Regions from separate parts of the Homo sapiens genome. Here all the other regions are linked to region 2. Evidence: promoter capture Hi-C in 16 types of primary human blood cells and fetal thymus (Javierre and others, 2016). All regions are on one chromosome and are shown on one strand. Each heading gives the region's core, a stretch centred on a gene start or on the middle of the fragment in contact. The rest is flanking DNA. Distances are from core to core; before and after follow the strand shown.

What was found. Contacts are between HindIII fragments. The CHiCAGO score rates a contact against its expected background, and 5 or more counts as called.
Region 1: a contact is called between a fragment that was not itself captured here and the fragment with the promoter of CASKIN2 in region 2, in 1 of 17 cell types (endothelial precursors). The highest score is 5.5, in endothelial precursors.
Region 3: a contact is called between a fragment that was not itself captured here and the fragment with the promoter of CASKIN2 in region 2, in 5 of 17 cell types (endothelial precursors, erythroblasts, M0 macrophages and 2 more). The highest score is 11.9, in endothelial precursors.

Annotation. Positions count from the first base shown.
Region 1 is chr17:75,677,135-75,681,608 of GRCh38, reverse strand. The region is part of intron 3 of SAP30BP (SAP30 binding protein); the gene reads right to left. Among named protein-coding and RNA genes, the nearest start is that of SAP30BP-AS1, 5.4 kb to the left of the region's middle. The HindIII fragment of the contact is 787 bases long and covers 1,123-1,909 here.
Region 2 is chr17:75,512,819-75,516,786 of GRCh38, reverse strand. CASKIN2 (CASK interacting protein 2) reads left to right here and starts at 1,250. Exons shown (of 20, transcript NM_020753.5): 1 at 1,250-1,386; 2 at 2,579-3,076. The coding sequence starts at 2,983. It overlaps TSEN54 (tRNA splicing endonuclease subunit 54), which reads right to left and starts at 259. Exons shown (of 11, transcript NM_207346.3): 1 at 171-259; 2 at 1-41. The coding sequence starts at 226. RefSeq lists silencers at 21-400, 791-1,400 and enhancers at 185-479, 1,574-2,140. The HindIII fragment of the contact is 2,660 bases long and covers 1-1,843 here.
Region 3 is chr17:75,745,677-75,749,762 of GRCh38, reverse strand. It overlaps ITGB4 (integrin subunit beta 4), which reads right to left. Exons shown (of 40, transcript NM_000213.5): 27 at 718-922. Among named protein-coding and RNA genes, the nearest start is that of GALK1, 17 kb to the left of the region's middle. The HindIII fragment of the contact is 2,980 bases long and covers 1-2,813 here.

The DNA.
Region 1 (4,474 bases), core at 267-2,766, 160 kb before region 2:
TAATCAGCAGTCAACAACAAATTCCTGGGAGATTAGCCCCTTAGGCAGTTTTCAGATATTTGATTCTGGTACTTCAAAAGATCAGGAGTAATGCAAGGACAGTGGGAAGGAGTTGAGAGGAGAGTGGGTGAGGGAATTACCGAGTCAGCTCTGCCCAATACAAATCCTCATCTAGACTGTGAGTCAGTAACTCCCGTCAACTGGGAGACCTGGTCTTCTTCAGGATGGGTATGAATAGCCACTGAGGCAGAGAACCACTCACCCGGCTGGGCCTCCAGAGGAGGCTAAGTGAGGACTTGTCAAGGCCCCCACTCTGGAACTCTTAAGACAATCTACTGCCACAGTTCCCAGACTACTACCTGGGGTAACCCAGCAAACTCACAAAGGTGCCACAGGATATTTAACAAAACTGTTACAGGAAACACAGCCTTACTCCACATGTCACATACCACACACACTTACACATATTATTTTTTTAAGCAGCTACTGAATTGTGAGGACAGTAATACTTAGTGTCTGAAGCTAATGACATAAGAAACAGAACCATTCGTTAGGCATTTTTTCTTCTTTTTTTCAGACAGGGTCTTGGTTTGCTGCCCAGGCTGGAGTGCAGTGGTACAGATCTCGGCTCACAGCAACCTCTGCCTCCCAGGATCAAATGATCCTCCCATCTCAGCCTCCCAAGTACCTGGGACTACAGGCACACACTACCATGCCTGGCTAACTTTTGTAGTTTCTGTAGAGACGGGTTTCACCATGTTGCCCAGGCTGGTCTCAAACTCCTGTGCTCAAGCAATTCTCCTGCCTCGGGCATCCCCAAGTGCTGGGATTACAGGCTTGAGCTACCACACTCAGCCATTAGGCATTTCTTTTTGTTCCAGAGGTCTGTGAAAAACTATGGAGACATGAAGGGCAGTGAGCCGAGAAATCGTGGCGCCTTCTAACCTACAGGATAAGGGCGTATAATCAGACTTAGTTACACTGAAAAGGCCAAGCACTGCTAACAAGTGCATTGTATACTGCGAAAAGCACCTTCATGTACATTCTCTCACGCCGCAGTCACAACCACCTTGCAAAGGGGGTCTCACGGCCCTGACTGCCCAAATGGAGCCGAGTGAAGCTTAAGTTACAGGCCTGTGGTTCCACAGCCAGAGGGAAGCCAGGCCAGGGCACAACCCAGGTCTTCGGACCACAAGTCCACCAGACCGGCTCTAAATTGTTTGTGAGCTCCACATTTTAGTACTACTTTAGGGATCTTAGAATTTTAAAAATGTCTTCTCTTAACTGGGGTTATACACGCCTTTTTAAAAAATGCCAGAACAATTCCCCCCAACCCCCACCTGATGCCACCTCCTTGACCCAGAAGACGGAATTTTGTTTTCACAGATGTACACTCCTGGGCTGGGAGGATTCTTTTCCTAGATCAGAGCGTGAGATCTAGATCTTTTCCTAGATCAGCACCTCAGGGAGGCCGGCGATCCCAGTCCCTCCCAGTCAGCTGGCAATAGGCTGCTCCATCTTTCTTGCTCCAGGCTCTCAACCCCCATGTTTGTTTTCAAAGGAAGGGTGTGTCAGGGACAGTGAGTGAATGGAAACAGCTTCATCCACAGGAACTGTAGGAGTGGAGAAAAAAATAAACAAGGGAAACCGTCCAGAGCAAACGAGGTAAAAATGGACAAAGGAGAGTGGCGAAAGGGATGTTCGGGTGCCAAAGGTAAACAGGGGGAGGAAGCACTTCAGCCACCAGGCACTCCTTTCCCGGAGTGAGGTGCTGGCCCCAGGACTGTCACGTCTGCTCTTTTTCCAGAACAGCAGTGCCACCTCCTGTTAATTTGCTGCTTACCGAAGAGACAAGATCAGAAACTTGAAGTTAGAGACGAAAAAATAATGGAACACAGGAAACAAAGCTTGTTTCCTATGCAACGCCCAGCCTCCTTCTCCAATCTCCTGTTCGCTAGTTTGGGGCAAACTCAGCACCTGCAGAGCCCAATCCCTGCTGCCCCAACCTAAAGGACAGGACCAAGTCTCTCTGCCCAGGTGGGCCAGAGTTAGTTCTTACTCACGCTCCCAAACATGGGACTCTGTGCTCACAGGTAACCCCAAACATCAGAGCAATAAAAACCAGGGCAATTCCAGTCTGTGCATATTTTAAAGTCATCAGATAACAAAGTTAGAGAATACTCAACTTTGCTTATGTATAATGCCCAAGTCCTTTCCTAGGGGGTTCCCAGGGAACTCCCTGGAGTTTAATCCAACCTCTACCAACAGATTTTATGATGTTGATGACAAGTCGTTTCTTACAACTTGCCTGAAGGCCGGGCATGGTGGTTCACACCTGTAATCCCAGCACTTTGGGAGGCCGAGGCAGGCAGATCACGAGGTCAGGAGATCGAGACCATCCTGGCTAACATGGTGAAACCCTGTCTCTACTAAAAATACAAAAAATTAGCCAGGTGTGGTGGCGGGCGCCTGTAGTCCCAGGTACTACTCGGGAGGCTGAGGCAGGAGAATGGCGTGAACCTGGGAGGCGGAGCTTGCAGTGAGCTGAGATGGAGCCACTGCACTCCAGCCTGGGCGACAGAACGAGACTCCGTCTCAAAAAAAAAAAAAAAAAAAACTTGCCTGAAAAACCTCTAGAAACAGGGAGCTCACTACCTTATGAAACAGCTCAACCCACTTGTGGCCGGAGATCACAAAAGGTCCTTCGTTATATGAAGGTAAACTTCTGTGGAATTCTGCGCGCGGCTTCAGGTCTGCCTCAGGCTGCCTTAGCCTTTCCCTCAGCAGACCTTCAAACACCAGAGCGCAACCCCGGCTCTTCCCGAGTCTTCTGTCTTCCAGCTCTACCTTTCCCTCAGGTGATGTGCTTTTGAGTCCCCTCACCTTTATGACTGCTCTTCTGAGAGCACTCCAGTTTAAAACATGGAATCTGCTCTTCCAAAACCGGCCGACAACATGGTATGACCAGCCTGGGAAGTGTGCACAGGTGGAACTGGAAGTGATGGTCAGTTCAGCCAATGCTACTGAACAAACACACACCAGACATACTGAGTCGAGTACAGCCGGCCCTCTGGATCTGTGGTTCTGAATCCATGGCCAGAACTCACCTCCAATTGTGTGTGTGTGTGTGTGTGTGTGTGTGTGTTTTAAATTGTGTCTGTGTTGAACGTGTCAGACTTTTTTGCTTGTCATTATTCCCTAAACAACACAGTCTAACAACTAGTTACACAGCCATTTACATTGTATCAAGTATCATAAGATGATTTAAAGTATCCAGAAGGATTCCCAAGGCTAAATGCAAATGCTACACCATTTTATATCAGAACCTTGAGCATCTGAGGAGGGGGTCCTGGGATCCCCACAGATAGTGAGGGACAACTGCATTTTATTTTTACTTAGTTGAACCTTAAAATAAATGAGACAGATTTTATTATGATGATTATTTTCGCGATGAGAAAAACTGAGGTTAAAGGACTTCCCCAAGAAAACCCCAGTCTCATTCCAGAGCTTGAACTCCTCCCCACCATGCCAGGGCTGAATCATCTTACTCTGAATACTAACCCACCCTCAACATGGCTCAAGACCCCATAAGGCTAACAACTTAACGGACATTTTCAGAGCAATAAAAACAGTTCTCAAACAACTACTGAATCACTGACCCATGATTTCTGTTTTAGAATAATAGTAGTTTTTCTAAGGGGTCTGCAAAGTCAAAACCGTTTTAAGTCATTGTCTTTTTCATCGTGTTGACCTTTGCACAAGCAATGGTGGGTAAACTGCTAGCCTTTAGAACAAATTGAGGTGGCAGCACCAAACTGTAGCCGTTTGATTTAAAAAAAAAAAAAAAAAAAAAGGGCTGGGTGTAATCCCATGGGATTCCCATGCCTGTAATCCCAGCACTATGGAAGGCTGAGGTGGGTGGATCACTTGAGGTCAGGAATTTGAGACCTGCCTCACCAACATGGTGAAACCCCAACTCTACCAAAAAAAAAAAAAAAAAAATACAAAAATTAGTCAGGCACGGTGGTTCACATCTGTAATCCCAGCTACTCGGGAGGCTGAGGCAGGAGAATCGCTTGAACTGGGAGGTGAAGGCTGCAGTGAGCTGAGATTGCGCCACTGCACTCCAGCCTGGGTGACAGAGCGAGACTTCGTTTCCAAAAAAAAAAAAAAAAAGCCAGTTTCACTTAAGAATGGTCAGCCATAGGCCGGGCGTGGTGGCTCACATCTGTAATCCCAGCACTTTGGGAGGCTGAGGCGGGCAGATCACAAGGTCAGGAGTTCGAGACCAGCCTGGCCAATATGGTGAAACCCTGTCTCTACTAAAAACACAAAAATTAGCCGGCCATGGTGGCGCGTGCCTGTATCCCAGCTACTCAGGAAGCTGAGGCAGGAGAATTACTTGAACCTGGAAGGCAGAGGTTGCAGTGAGCCGAGATTGTGCCACTGCACTCCAGCTTGGGCAACAGAGTGA
Region 2 (3,968 bases), core at 1-2,500:
GCTTCTGCGACCGCGAGCGGGCGGCGAAGAGCTCCCGGGCGCTGGGGGAGAAGGGGACGCGGGGTCAGCGCCGCGCATCGGGGGCCGCCTGGCCGGGTCCCGGGCGCCGGTTTCCCTACCCGCGCTGGCCCCGCGCCCCCGACACCCACTCCGGCCGGGCCGCGCCGCACCTGAGCACGCGCCCCGCGGGAACCTCCACGGCCGCGGGCTCGGGCTCGGGCTCCATCCCGCCGCCGCCTGCCGCTGCGCGCGCCGCCACGCCCCGCCCACCGCCGGAGCTCCGCGCTGCCCTAGTGCCCGCCGATCCGCAATGCCGCGGCAGCCCCGCCCCCTGCACCGCCCCAGCCCGCTCTGCGCCCTCCTGATTGTCCCCGGTCCTAGCGCCCGCCCGGAAGCGCACCCCGACGCCGGGTCTGGGAGCTCAGCCCGCAGGTTGCTGGAGATGCAGAAGGCCCCTCTTTTGCCCCTAGCCCTCCTCGGGGCTTCTCTCCAGTAAAGCCTGAGGAGCCGGCGTCTGGAGTGCAGTGCGAATGGTCACACTTGTGACCGCCCCTCTGCAGCCTCGCGCTGCTTAGTCCCCACCGCCCGGGCTGGGCAAGGAGGGCAGAAGGGCTCAGGGAAGGACGAGCGGAGGGTGTGCAAATTCCGACTTTGCAGGCCGAAGGCCACCCGGGAACTGTCAGGAGCGGTCCGGGGAGGTTCGCCATTCCTTCGGTGTCTTCCGTCCGGTCCCTACGGCTGGGCTCCGAAGCCAGGTTTCGAGGGCCGGGGGCGGGAGGCGCTGTCCGGCCCACGACGGTGCTGAAGCGCCACCTCCGCCCGGCACGAGCGCCTCCTCGAGGCTGGGGTCCCCGCACTGGTGCCGTCCGCTAGGTGGTGCCATTGCCCGGCCGGCGGCTGCGGGTGGGCGACGCCGGCCGCAGACGGGGGGTACTGCAAGTGGGGTCCCGCGTCTTGGTTGCCAACCCCCTTCACATTACGTCTTCTCTCCCACCAGTCAGACCCGGGGTGTCTAGCCCTTGGGTCTAAGTCCAGAGCCCCAGGTCACCTCTGCCCCCGCGCCCCCCGCCCCTCCGTTTCACCTGGGCGCATGCGCTGATCCGGTCAGCGCCCCCGGTCCGGGCGGGCACGAGTTGGGGCGGGATCTGGCGCGGATGGGGGCGGAGCCGCCGGTGCTGACTGACAGCCTGACTGCGCGGCCGGGACGGTCCCTCCGTTCCCGATCCGGCGGGAGGGAGGGGGGAGGGGCGGGATTTCCTGCGGGAGGCGCCGAGCCGGCCTTGGAAAAGGAGAAGGAGAAAGGGGGGCAGGGGGGAGTGGGAGCCACCGTCCTGAGTGCCAGGGACCGAGCAGGGCCAGCCGGACCCCGGCGGGCGGCCGGGAGAGGTGAGGCTGCGGGGCCCGCGCTGGGGGTCAGCGCCCCTGGGGGCGGGCGCAAACTAACTTTTCTTGCGGGGTCGGCGGGCACCTCCATCTCCCCGCTCCTTCCGTCCTCCTCGCGCCCCTTTTTCCATCCTCCGCGTTTATACCTCGGGCGCTTGGCCCGCCCGGCTTCTCCCGCCGCTTTGTTCCCCGGTGGGCCTGGGCTGGGCTGGGCTGGGCTGGGGGGTTGCGAGGCGCTGGAGGGACATTCCGGGGGGCGGGGGAGCCAGCCCGACCCCAGGCACTGCCAAGGGCGCCCTCCGCCCGTGTCGGCCGCGGGCTCCGCGTGGGAGTGCCCCTGGGTTGGGCTTGGGACGTTTGGGGAGTGAGGGGTTCCCGGCCAGGGCCCCAGGCCTGCGCGGATCTCATGCCACAAGACTCTGGCAGTAAATTCGCTGCCACCGAGAAACTGACGTAAGCTTCTCTGCGGTGGAGTCCAGGGTCTGGGCTTCAGGTTCAGGCTTGGGGGGCTTGGGAGCCCCGTTTGTCAGCAGTGCCCCAGCTCTCTCTGTTCTCTGCCCAGCTGCTCCTCCACCCGACACAAGGGGCGAGGGCGGGTCAGCAACAGGTGCTGTGCAGCTTCCCTCTCTAGCAGGCAGAGCCCCCAGAAATGGGGGGCCAGAAGCACTTCATGCTCTCCGTTCACAAAGAGTCCTAGGACTAGGGCATCCAGCCATTAAAGCGAAGCCTTGAAGCCTCCGTAGGGAGGAATCTGGGGGCTGGTGCCTTTGACAGGGAGTGACCCCTGCCCGCCTGCCTGTGCCTGACCCTCCCGGCCCCACCTCCTGGCCCGCCAGTTGTCTGTGGGTGTCGGAGCCTCGGGCTGTGGAGAACAGGCTGCTGGCCCGGCCTGCCCCAGTATGTCATGCTGCCAGGGCCCCTCCTGCCCAAGGTTGAGGTACTGCCAGGTGCCCTGGGGCCCCAGTGACTCAGCCTCCCCCTCCCAGAATGCCACCTCCCCCCCACCAATACTCCTCTCATGCATAGCAGCTTCCTCCCCACTTTCAGTGGCTCAGCATCACCATCGACTCCGAGGGGAGCCAGGGTGGCTTGGGGGCTCCCTGGAGGTCTTGTCCTGCTCATCCTCTGCACTCCACTTCTGGGACCCTTGCAGGCTGTGGCCCAGCATTCGACAGAGGCCCCGTGCTTTTTCCAGAGCCCTGAGACCAGTGCACCGCTGCTGCCTGAGGCCCAAGGGAATGCTGGCTGCTCTCTGGGTGGGCACTGGTGTTCCACAGCCAAGCCGGGAAGATTGGTGTGCCCAGTCCCAGCCCATCCTGGAGCTGTCGGAAGCCACAAGCTGATATCCATCCAGATTTCCATGTAGCCTTCACCCCCTCAAAGATTAGCTTTCCTTCGTGTGGTGGCAGTTCACGGAGCACCTTTGGGAGTATCCCTCAGTACCTGACGAGGAGCCCACTGCCTGGGACACCTGACTTGCTCCCCCGGAACCGGGAGCCCTCCAAGGGGCTGTGGCATGGCGCCCTGACGCCCCAGCTTGGACCCGTTGCCTGCCTTTGCCCTGGACTCCTGAGTGTAGAGCTCAGCCCAGGAGCCAGTATGGGTCGTGAACAGGACCTGATCCTCGCCGTCAAGAATGGAGATGTGACCGGTGTGCAGAAACTGGTGGCGAAGGTCAAGGCCACAAAGACAAGTGAGTACCGGGTGGGACGAGCATCCCGCTGAGGCCGAGCGCTCAGTTCACAGAGGCTTGGTGGGTGGGGGTGGGTCACTGTGATCTGCATATTTGAGGAGGGTGGACTGTCTTGTTCTCAGTAAGAAGTGCCTCTGTGTGAGAGAGCCAGAGAGAAAGTTGGGTCCCCCTTGCTGTGTGTCCTTAGGCAAGTCACTTAACCTCTCTGGGCTGCAGTTTCCTGGCCTGCAAAATTAGAGGGTTGAAGTACGTTCATTCACATTGTTATTGAGTGCCTATAGCTTGTCACCCAGGCTGGAGTACAGTGGCAGGATCTCGGCTCACGGGAACCTCCGCCTTCTGGGTTCAAGCCATTCTCCTGCCTCAGCCTCCCTAGTAGCTGGGATTACAGGTGTGTGCCACCATGCCCGGCTAATTTTTTTTTATATTTTTGGTAGAGATGGGGGTTTCACCATGTTGACCAGACTGGTCTCGAACTCCAGACCTCAAGTGATCCACCCACCTAGGTAGGCCTCCTAGTACTAGGATTACAGGCGTGAGTCACTGTGCCTGGCTCAGGCTCTGTTCTAAGCACTGGATCATAGTAGTGAACAAAACAGACCCAAATTCCTGTCTTCGTGGAGTTGCCTTCTAGCAGATGGTCTTTCTGATGTGTTCTTTGGAGCCATGAGATTTCTGACAGTGGGTTAGAGAAGACTGAATAGATAGAACTTCATCCCTACCCCCAACCTCAAACGCACACATTTCAACCAGAGCACCTCTATGTTCGTGTCTTAAGAGGATATCTATAAGATAGCTGTTTTTTTTTTTTGAGACGGAGTCTTGCTTTCTCACCCGGCCTGGAGTGCAGTGGCATGATCTCAGCGCACTGCAGCCTCTGCCTCCCGGGTTC
Region 3 (4,086 bases), core at 74-2,573, 230 kb before region 2:
GCTTTCTCCCAGTTGGGAGGCTGAGGGCTGATAGGAACTAACTGGCCCACTCCTTCCTTCCACAAGCATCTGCATGTTAGTTGGAATTGAGGCTGAAGCCAAAGGGCCAGGGTCTGATGGGAGAATTCCTATTGTGTGGTGACAACAGCCTCTCTAGCTGTAGGGTTGCCAGATAAAATGCAGGATGCCTAGTTACATTTGAATTTCAGATAAACAACAAGATTATTTTTTCTTGGGGGACAGGATCTCATTCCATGGCCCAGGTGCTGTGCAGTGGTGCGATCACAGCTTGCTGCGGCCCAGACCCCCTGGGCTCAAGTGATCCTCCCACCTCAGTCTCCGGAATAGCTGGGACTGCAGGTGCACACCACTATGCCAAGCTAATTTGTTTATTTTTTGTAGAGACGAGGTCTCACTATGTTGCCCAGGCTGGTCTAGAACTCCTGGGCTCAAGTGATCCTCCCACCTTGGCCTCCCAAAATGCTGGGATTACAGGTGTGAGCCAGTATACCCAGCCCATTTTGCAAAAAAAAGGATAAGTATGTTCCAAATATTGCATGGGACATACTTATCCTACCAACGTGTATGTTGTTTACCTGAAATTCAGATTTACCTGGGCGTCCTGTGTTTGGATTTGCTAAGTCTGACAGACCTAGTTGAGAGACCCCCCAGTCTTCCCTCTCCTCCTGCTTAAGCCGACCCCCAGGCTCTGCCTACCTGGGTCCCTGATGATGATGGTGGTGGAGTGGGGCTGGCCCAGGTGGGCCCCAAACTTAGGGTTGCTGAGCTGGACGTGGAAACGGCGGACCTGGCGGCCCCGCAGGAGGGAGTCAACTTCTTGCAGCTCCAGGAGCTTCACCTGCAGCTCTTTCCAGGCCTCCCCAGGCTGGAACAGCAGCTCACCCTCCACGGGGATGTAGTCCTGGGAGTGGAGGGGGTCAGGGTCAGGGTCATGGCTGGGGGCTGAGGCAAGAGTCATGGCCACACGCTCCCTCCCAACCTCATGGACACTGCAGAGACCATCCCTGCTTGCTGGGTGGAGTACTTACACGAGGTTCAGGTTTTTGTGTTTTTTTTGTTTGTTTTTTTTTTTGAGGCGTAATCTCACTCTGTCACCTAGGCTGGAGTGCAGTGGCATGATCTCGGCTTACTGCAACCTCCACCTTCCAGGTTCAAATGATTCTCACACCTCATCTTCCTGAGTAGCTGGGATTACAGGCACCTGCCACCACGCCTAGCTAATTTTTGTATTTTTAGTAGAGATGGGGTTTCACTATGTTGGCCAGGCTGGTCTCGAACTCCTGACTTCAAGTGATCCTCCCACCTTGGCCTCCCAAAGTGCTGGGATTACAGACATGAGCCACCATGCCCAGCCACGTTTCTGTTTGTTTGTTTGTTTTTGAGACAGGGTCTCACTCTGTCACCCAGGCTGGAGTGTAGGGGCACAATCACAGCTCACTGAAGCCTTGACCTCCTGGGCTCAGGCCATCCTTCCCCTCAGCCGCCTGAGTAGCTGGGACTACAGGCGTGCACCACACCTGGCTATTTTTTTTTTTTTTTTTTTTGTAGAGGCACGGTTACCCTATGTTGCCTAGGCTGGTCTTGAACTCCCGGCCTCAAGCGATCCGCCCACCTTGGCCTCCCAAAGTGCTGGGATTACAGGCGTGAGCCACCCATCTTCCTTTCAGTGCCGTGGAGCATGCCTGAGCTTTCCAGGATAAGAACTGGGAGGAAAAAGAAAATCCTTCACATAGAAGACCACTAGGTGGCACTTCAGGGCAAGATTTCAATTCCAGGCGCAGCAGCCAGGGCGATGGCTGGGGAGGCAACCTCATGCCACCCAACTCAGAAAGTGAGACCCATAGTTGTAAAACAAACAAACAAAAAACAAACCAGGGAGCTGCCTGCAAGCAACCTACATGGATACTTCAAAAACGTCAGTGTCATTAGCCCGGCATGGTGGCCGGTGCCTGTAATCCCAGCTACTCGGGAGGCTAAGGCAGGAGAATTGCTTGAACCCGGGAGGCAGAGGTTGCAGTGAGGCACTGTACTCCAGCCTGGGTGACAGAGCGAGACCTTGTCTTAACAAAAGTCAGTGTCACGGAAGACAAAGCCAGGAAACTTTTCTAGATTAAAGGAGTCAAGACACGTGACAAAAGTCAATGCCAAATCCTTGATTAGTTCCTGCATTGGGGGGAAAAACGCTATAAAGGACATTATTGGGACATCCGAACAAGGGGACATTGGAATATGGACCTATTTTATTTTATTTTATATATTTTTTGGGATGGAGTTTTGCTCTTTTGCCCAGACTGGAGTGAAGTGGCGCAATCTTGGCTCACTGCAACCTCCACCCACTGGGTTCAAATGATTCTCCTGCCTCAGCCTCCCTAGTAGCTGAGATTACAGGCGTGTGCCACCATGCCCGGCTAATTTTTGTATTTTTAGTAGAGATGGGGTTTCTCCATGTTGGTCAGGCTGGTGTCAAACTCCTGACTTCAGGTGATCCACCTGCCTCAGCCTCCCAAAGTGCTGGGATTACAGGTGTGAGCCACCACGCCTGGCTGGAATATGGACTAATTTTAGGTACTAGTATAATCAATGTGAAGATACAGATGTCCACATCTCTATTTATATTTCTATGTTGCTATCTATATAGAAAGAGAGAGAAAGCAAATATTAGCAATCGGTGAATCTATGTAAAGGGTAAATGGGTGCTAGTTTTACTGTTCCTTCCATTTTTCTGTAAGTTGAAGTTTTTAAAAATAAAAAGGTGAGAAATTAAAATGTTTTAAAAAACAAATATCAAAGCTTTTTTTTTTTTTTTTTTTTTGAGACAGGGGTTTCACTCTGTCACCCAGGCTGGAGTGCAGTGGCACTATCTCGGCTAACTGCAACCTCCACCTACTGGGCTCTACCTCAGCCTCCCGAGTAGCTGGGACCACAGGTGCACACCACAACACCCAGATAATTTTCTGTATTTTTGGTACAGACAGGGTTTCGCCATGTTGGCCAGGCTGGTCTTGAACTCCTGATCTCAAGCGATCTGCCCGCCCTGGCCTCCCAAAGTGCTGGGATTACAGGCATGAGCCACTGTACCCAGCCTCAAAGCATCTTTATACAAGTGTAACAGGGTAGCCAGAAGGCAAGGCAAAAGGATCATGTTATCCTAGGAGTTTGAGACCAGCCTGGGCAACATGGCGAAACCCTATCTCTACTAAAAATATAAAATGGCCGGGCGCGGTGGCTGATGCCTGTAATCCCAGCACTTTGGGAGGCTGAGGTGGGCGGATCACGAGGTCAGGAGTTCGAGACCAGCCTGACCAACATGGTGAAACCCCGTCTCTACTAAAAATACAAAATTTAGCTGGGTGTGGTGGTGCGCACCTGTAGTCCCTGTTACTTGGGAGGCTGAGGCAGGAGAATCGCTTGAACCCTGGAGGTGGAGGTTGCAGTAAGCTGAGATCGCGCCAGCCTGGGCAACAGAGTGAGACTCCGTCTCAAAGAAAAAAAAATACAAAATTAGCCGTGCGGTGGTGGACATCTGTAGTCCCAGCTACTTGGGAGGTTGAGGTTGAAGGACTGCTTGAGCCCAGGAGTTCAAGATTGCAGAGAGCTAGGACTGTGCCCCTGTACTCCACCCTGGACTAGAGGGAGACCTTGTCTCTTAAAAGAAAAAAATTATTCTTTGGAATTTTTATGGGGGGACATTGGAAAAATAATGAGAACAGTTCCTGTCAATAAAAAGAAGTAAATAAAATTAGGATGTGGCCAGGCAGCCCGGGCCTGCTGACTACGCGCTCCCCTATGTTTGCTGAATGGGCCTGTGGGCCCAGGGAGGCGAGACTTTATTACTTTTGAGATAATTTTTTTTTTCTTTTTTCGAGACAGAGTCTCACTCTGTCGCTCAAGCTGTAGTGCAGTGGCATGATCTCGGTTCACTGCAGCCTCCACCTCCTGGTTTCCAGCAATTCTCCTGCCTCGGCCTCCCGGGTAGCTGGGATTAGAGGCACGTGTCACCATGCCCAGCTAATTTTTGTATTTTTAGTAGAGACAGGGTTTCACCATGTTGGCCAGGCTGGTCTC